2 separate regions of the Homo sapiens genome follow, and region 2 is linked to region 1. Evidence: promoter capture Hi-C in 16 types of primary human blood cells and fetal thymus (Javierre and others, 2016). All regions are on one chromosome and are shown on one strand. Each heading gives the region's core, a stretch centred on a gene start or on the middle of the fragment in contact. The rest is flanking DNA. Distances are from core to core; before and after follow the strand shown.

The links. Contacts are between HindIII fragments. The CHiCAGO score rates a contact against its expected background, and 5 or more counts as called.
Region 2: a fragment that was not itself captured here is called in contact with the fragment with the promoter of LSM8 in region 1 in 2 of 17 cell types (naive CD4 T cells and activated CD4 T cells); the score reaches 7.3 in naive CD4 T cells.

Annotation. Positions count from the first base shown.
Region 1 is chr7:118,182,473-118,186,127 of GRCh38, forward strand. It overlaps LSM8 (LSM8 homolog, U6 small nuclear RNA associated), which reads left to right and starts at 1,692. Exons shown (of 4, transcript NM_016200.5): 1 at 1,692-1,782; 2 at 3,182-3,222. The coding sequence starts at 1,752. It overlaps LOC105375470 (a long non-coding RNA gene), which reads right to left and starts at 1,496. Exons shown (of 4, transcript XR_927904.3): 1 at 1,443-1,496. The HindIII fragment of the contact is 4,305 bases long and covers 1-2,768 here.
Region 2 is chr7:112,935,156-112,939,083 of GRCh38, forward strand. All of the region lies in intron 1 of SAMTOR (S-adenosylmethionine sensor upstream of mTORC1), which reads right to left. Among named protein-coding and RNA genes, the nearest start is that of SAMTOR, 2.8 kb to the right of the region's middle. The HindIII fragment of the contact is 3,237 bases long and covers 1-3,203 here.

The DNA.
Region 1 (3,655 bases), core at 442-2,941:
CGTTGGCCAGGATGGTGTTGATCTCTTGACCTTGTGATCCACCCGCTTTGGCCTCCCAAAGTGCTGGGATTACAGATGTTAGCAACTGCACCCGGCCTCATTTTTATAAGATCACACAGAGGTTTTTTTGTTTGTTTGTTTTTGAAATGGAGTTTCGCTTTTGTCGCCCAGGCTGGAGTGGAATGGCGTGATCTCAGCTCACTGTAACCTCCGCCTCCCGGGTTGAAGCAATTCTCCTGCCTCACCCTCCAGAGTAGCTGGGGTTACAGGAACCCACCAACATGCCCAGCAATTTCTTTTTTTAACAAAACTCCTAACACCTCGTTAATCATTAATTAGTCTTTGGGTTTTGGTTCAACACCTAACATTTGCAAATCACACAATTATCTTTGTTCTTTCATTAGCGGAAGACACTTTCATTTGTTACCCTGAGAATATGAGACATTCACAATCTAATTCCTGACTACATTTGATTTCAAACAGATAGGAATAAGTTCCAGAATATAAAATATTAACTATTTGGGAGTATCTTGTGGGTATGCTCTAATTAAGAAATGCTTCCTTTTCCGAGGAAAACTGCTGACATTGCAAGAGTTATTACAAAGCCACAAATCTTAAGAAAATACATGTTTAACTGAAATTATAAAGATATTTTGCAAAAAAGGGAAATCGCTCCTGCTGGTGTTTTGTGTATAAATCTCTTTCTAACTTCAAGCTCTCTCAAGTTAGGGCAACAGTAAATGAAGTGGGAACAGTATCGCATTGGGAAATATCTGAAATGATACCTATGGGACTATCTAACGAAACTGAGGCCCAGAAGAATTGAAGTGACCTGTGCAATGACACCAATTTGTTAGCAGAGCCAAGATTAGAACCAAGTTTGGTGCCTTCCTGCATCCTTCCTGCATCGGTCCTTTCTCGGTGCTGCAGCAGCCTTTTACTTACTAATTTCACCCTGAAGAAAGGTAGACCATCCTGGCGTGGCAGAAGCGTGGACATTCGTTTTCTAAGGGATGGTCACACACCTTTGCCTATTTGCATTTAGTTTCTTTAAAAAGTAAAAACACCTCCATTTTGGAACACTTTTAGAGACAAAAGCAGAACATACGAAAGTGTATTTCACTGCTGAGTTCTTAAGAGGCGTACACCGTGTGGTTATAACGTGCGCAACTCTGTCCCGGGCAACTGAACTTATTTTTAGCGTTATTTTCGGCTTCTGCTGCAGAAAACTAGGGATTCAACTACCCGCACCTACGTTTCACACAACAGCACTCGTCTCTCTCCTTCACTCCTAATAAAAACACCTTACTTCGTTTATTCCTGCCTGCTCTACCTCGTCTCAACATTTTCTCTTGTTAACTTCCACCACACTGCCTTTTACTCGGATTGGAAACCCACTCTCCCCCAACTTCTGTCTCATACCCCCAACTTCTGTCTCATACCCCCAACTTCAGGAAGCGTCTTCCTTTTTTCCGCCTCTCGTTCGCTTTTGTCTTACGAGGCTTCCGGAACACGGCCCAGAATTACAGAGAAAACACACTGCGCACGCGCACTCTCTCGTCACCGCTGTGCGGCTTCTGTTTGGTTGGCCAGTTCGTCCCAATTTCCGACTCACAGGGCTGCGGAGCAGCAACTCTCACGATATTTGCTGCGACCCGCAGGCGCTATCCGCTGCCGGGTTCTGGCGCGCCCTTTCAGTTCTGCTTGCTGTCGGCACCGCTGCGTTACCCGGAACCGCCGGGCCGAACAGCATGACGTCCGCTTTGGAGAACTACATCAACCGTATCCTCAAGCTGGCCGCCGCGGGCGTGAGCCGGGGTCGCGGAGAGGCCGCGGTCGGGGATCGGTGGGAGGTTGGGAGGCCTGGCCTCGGCGGGATCCTGGGGGCGGGCGAGGAGATGAGGGCCCCGGAACGACCCAGAGTTCGCCGGCGGCGCCTCGAGCCTTCCCGCTGCTGCGGGCCCAGGGGTCCTTTCCATTTTGCCTGCAAAACCCAAATAAAAACCCAGTGTGATTATTCCGAACTTTTCTGTCTTAAAAAAAATGTACGCTCTTGATTCTTACTTACTATTTCCCTATGGCATAAGTGTTAAAGTTTGTGAATAAGATGAACAGTCGTCCTGGCGGCGACAACAGTTTTGCAAATCTTTGTACTTGTTTTATTCACATAATTTGCTCGTTCGAGGATAGCAAAAAGTTTAACGATGGTTCACAGACTGTTTCTGTCCCTTTACCACTTGAAGTCCCAACTTGTTGGTAGAATGAAAAAAAATGGTTGCTGTTGTAATGGATTATAGTGAGGAGCAAGTAACAACCCCATGGGAAGTCTTAAAATAGACTTTACAAGTGTTACCGTTTTAAAGTCTTAGGACAAAAACACTACGTTAAGCTCAGGTACAAACTGGGTGACAAAAATTAAATACCGAATGCTTTTAATGATGCGTTATTGGTACCCTGTGACACTGCTTATATAGTTTCTTTACTTTTGAATTACAGAAGCCTGTCCTGGAAGACAGTTTTTTAACATGCTGGAAAATCGTCCAACATCGATTAATTTAGTACTCATCCACTTTTCATTTTAGAAATAAACAGGCCTAAGAAACGAAATATCCTGCCTGAAATAATAGATTGGTAACCTTCCTAGTAGAAAAGTGTCAAAAATCCAGGATATTTTGAGATAAGATACACCGATCACATACAGAAAGAGGTTTTCTTTTTCTATTTTTTCCCTTTTTTAATCATGTAATTATCACAAAGACAAAAACAGAAGCTTTTTTTAAGTTTTTTTTTTTTTTTCTTTTTTTGAGTCGAGGGTCTCACTCTGTTGCCCAGGCTGGAGTGCAGTGGCTTGATCATGGCTCAATGCAACCTTGAACTCCTGAGCCCAAGCAATCCTCCTGCCTCTGCCTCTGCCTCCTGAGTAGCTGGGACTATAGGTCACCAGGCCAGGGTAATAGAGATGGGGGTATCGCTGTGTTGCCCAAGCTGGTCTCACCTCAAGTGATCCTCCTGCCTTGGCGTCTAAGAAACTTTTAACGTTTTTATGTAGTGAACTTAGTGGCTGTGTTGAATACTTATACCTAGTTGTCATATTTATTCTAAAAATTCAAATCATTCCCTTGCCAGAGTCTGTTTTCAATTTGCATTCCCTAAGAAACACTTTCTTTGATTCAGTTATCAGGAACTGTTGCCGTTATTACATCAGATGGGAGAATGATTGTGGTAAGTCTTTGGAATTTTCATTCTCTGCTTTCCTGTAGGTTTATTGGTTGCAAGTTTTATGTGAAACCTCTAATCTCTAATGCCTAGACAGCACATTACACCCGTAGTGCAATTTTATTATAATTCAGCTCTTTATCACTTTGCTGTCAATCCATGTTTTCCTCACTAATAAACATTGTGTGTTACCTACAAGGTTTCTCGGAGCTAGAATAATAGATTCTGCCCTCAGAGAGCTCCTAGTCTGTAGACCTTTATTAAACTTACTTTTCTTCTTCCATTTTTATTTCCTTCCCCATTCAGCACCACATGAATCAGAATTTTTTTGAAATTTTGCATATGCTTAGTAACTTTTTAATGATTTAGATACTATTAATATCTAGATAACATTTAAGGCTTGTATACAATCTTAATATTCTTTGTTTTTAGGTTGTGT
Region 2 (3,928 bases), core at 335-2,834, 5.2 Mb before region 1:
AGAACACAAAAAGAAAACAGCAAAACCTCACTTGAGAAAAGAATCTGTTCAAAGTTTCTTAAGGTCTTGGACTTGGTCAAAATTTTAAAGCAGCTGTGTTTAAAGCCCACTGAGGAAAAAAAATAAGAAAAGTTCAATTAAAAGGAGTCTCATTCTAATTTTTAAAACAACTTCAAAACTTTGTTTCTGGAAAAACACCAACATCACATTCATTCTCTTATTTTTAGCCTTTTTGGTTTAAAATTATTTTAATACAAAAGTTTTTCCCCTTCCCCCACAATTCTCATTTTAAGTGTTTGCTGAAGAATAGTCAATCACAAATATATTTTTCAGCTTATCCTACACTGCCATGCTAATTCACCTGTTAAGATCACCCCCTAATTCCATGACTTTAAGAATACCTCTTTTAACAGTTTAGTACATACTTTTACTTTTTTTTGTGATTGATTTATAAGCTGCAGGTGTTTATGTGATAAACTGTTTTAAATCTGTTTGGTATGCAGAACAAGTAAATTCAGGGATTGAATAATTTGATAAAATGTCCCAAAGATATTCATAAGATAGGTTAAAAAAATAAAAACGAAATGGAATGAAAAGTGTACTTTTACTCCTGACAACTGCAGCCTTTTACATTTTCTTGGAATTTTTACATAAACGCTTTAAGTTTAGAAAGAGAAATGCCAGGCATAAAAGCAATCATTACAGGAATGGGTTCATGTGAATACGATTATGGAAAAAAAAAATCATACAAAGACAACCAAAAACACACATGGCTCTACTTCAGTTCTTGATTTGATACATATTTGTCAGGCTCATCTAATTAAATAATGAAGTCCCTGTTTGAAAAGCGAAACTAGTTTTTTTAATTAAAAAGCTGTCTATAACTCTTATACATTTAAAATATTTTTGGTTTACATGGAGGTCAAATTTTAAAAATTATGTATGCAAAGACAGAAAACACCTATATGTGCAAGCATATTTCCATTTATAAATATGGATCTATTCACTAGATAGTGAAAAACCTATCTTATGAATATCTTATGAATATAACCTCACTTTAAAAGACTGTCTCTTAACTATCAATGGCAGACACCAGAAATACCCCTTCGCATCACCACTGCTAGGCATCTCCCTACCATTTCTTTTTAGTAACTGCTTCAGATACGAGTGCTGCCTGGAACACACCTTTATCTCCAGTTCTCACTTTACCTTTAGACAAATTGGCACAGCATCTCTTAAGTGGTGAAACAAGGCAGGCCATAAACTGGGGAAGGAAAAAGTGGTAAACGAAAAGAGTGCATTAAGCCTACCTGCTACTCTTTACAACCCTGTTCACCCTTCCCCACCCCAAGCCTGTTCATCACCATCAACTAGCATCAGTTGGGCAAATGGTTGGAGAAGAGTGGAAAAAAATCTTTTCTTATCACAGCAAAAAAGAACAACACAACTTATTTTCATTGTTTTTCCTGTTTTATTTTCAATTCCACTAATAGAGATAAGGGAAAAGAAGGCTCTGTTCTCCAACCTCCCAGTCACTATCTATCCTGTCCTTAATATTCAATGGCTGTTTTGCCTCCTTATTCTACCCTAACTTATTTCCTTCCCTGCCATCTCTCCCCAAAAAACCCTCACCTTGTATAGCCCCAACTCAGCTAATCATACCTATCCTATGGATCATCCATTCCCATCAATTTATAACTTTTCACCTAATGGAAATTCTAGGGCCACTTCCTGCTTCTCATTTTCCCTCCTATTCTAACATTTGGAGTCACTAATATTAGGTTTGGAGTTGGGGGTGGGGAACCTATATTATTCCCATAAAATATGTATAGTATTAATAATGAACTACCAAAGCATCAAGAAAGTTATTTTAATATTTTTAGGACTCCGCTCACTTATCTGTAAAATGAAGAAGCTATTAGATCACCACTCTAATATCTGGCTGACAATTTCCAGTTCCTAATAATAGGGATCTTAAACTATAGATCTGAGGTAGAATACAGGAATTGTCTAAGAGGCACCCAGTTGAATCTGCTGATCAGCCATGTTTGGGAATCACTGCTAAATGCTAAGAGGTTCCTTCTAGTCTAAAACTCCAAGATCCTAAGCTGGAATTTTCACTGCATTTGCTGGTAGAAGAATTGTGATAAAAGGGGTACAGTTTCCATAGTTATTGGTGCTATAGTTCAGGTATGTTATTGATTCAATGGGCCTTTGCAGACTGATCTAGCACTTAAGCAATCTTCAGATTACAATAACAGCTGACTTGCAAATGAACTTGTAAAATATGTTTACAGACTGGGGACCATCAGCACAATACTAAGTCCTCAAAGTAAAACACTAAAAATTATTTCCTTAGTATTATTATGTGCACAGAGTTTTTCACAGATGACTTTTTTACTACTAATATTTAGCCTATATGTCAGAAATAAAGGTAGAAGGAGCATGCTCATTAGGATCACTTATTCTGCTAATTCACTGATGGGGCTTTGTATATCATTCAAGCAAAGCCTAGAGAAGTCTAGATCACCGGTGAAATTCAGGGTATTAAAGCGCCTAAAGAATAGTCTCATTCAAATGTTTAAACTGCCAGGACTTTAACTCCCCAGAAGCATACTAGATCATTCACTTATGAACTCCATGTATCTATTCTAGATCTGGTAACTTCCGATTCTCATAAACAAGAGTTCCTGTGGTTAATACTCAGGCTTAAAACATGGTTAAACATGTGGGAACTAAGCACATATAAACAGCACTTGAAGAGATGCCACATTAGTGTGTTAATTTGAGTGGAACCTATTCATTTATGAATAAATGAATAATGAAATTATTAAAAGGTAAAAATAGAAATGGAATTCTATGCTAGTCATTTTTCTCTTTAGAAAGATGCACTTAAATTTGTACAAAATAGCAGGATAAATTGCAGGAAAATGTGTCCATTTATTTCCTAATCTCTCCAAATAACATAAAATCTACAGTGAATTCCATTATGTAAGAGCATTCTTTGAATATCAAGAATGATGCAGTTGTTGCTATGGTAACTACTCATTTTATTGACTAAATTGTGGGTTTGGGTAGCATTCTTTCAAAAAACATATTTTACCATCCTAAGTAGGTCTGATAAGACTCTTTCTATTGCTATCTGTTAAACAATAACTACAAGCCCCATTTGGGGATGATTAAACAGCCTCTATTAAAAGCTAAGCTTGATTTGCTAAGGAAAGAAACCTTTAAAGTTTGAAAAATGAAACATATCAACTACATTCAAAAGAACAAAGGATACTTAGTTTTAACTTTCTAGAGTAGTTGAAACGTGTGTATAAATCAACAGTAACATGATCTTACCTGTCTGTATTCCTTCACTGCCATAATTTTCCTTCTAATCCTAAATTATTAACTAAGTATAGGACTAACACCAGAAGGCTGCTGACTTTTCAGTTTGCAATTAAGCTAAAATGAGAACCAGTGGAAAGCTTTCCTCATTTCGATACTCAGGAGAAGTCTCTCTCCCAAGCCTATGAAAACAGAATTTTCACTGTCAAAATCTTATAAAACAGCTGTGTACAAAAGCCTATATTTAAAGATATCAAGGATAACTGTAGACTCCAACTATAAACACTCTTCAGGCACAGGCAAAAGCCACTAAGGCTTCTTCCCCTATGAGCTTCCACAGAGGGGGTTCTCACCGGAACCCCATCCATGGAAGCCGAGGGTGGGCTTTATCGGCAGGTGTCTTTAGGAGGCTTCCAATACAAACGGTATTTTCAGAACCTGCCCAGATCTCTTCCTCATCGCCTAAATAAACAGTTAAGACCAAGTATTTAAGAAATGGGAGTGGGGGCCACGAGTGTAGCCCGCCCCCTTTTAACAATGTGAAGTCCAGTCAGCTAAAAGGCCTGCTGGCTTCCCAGCCCTGGAAGCCAATGCG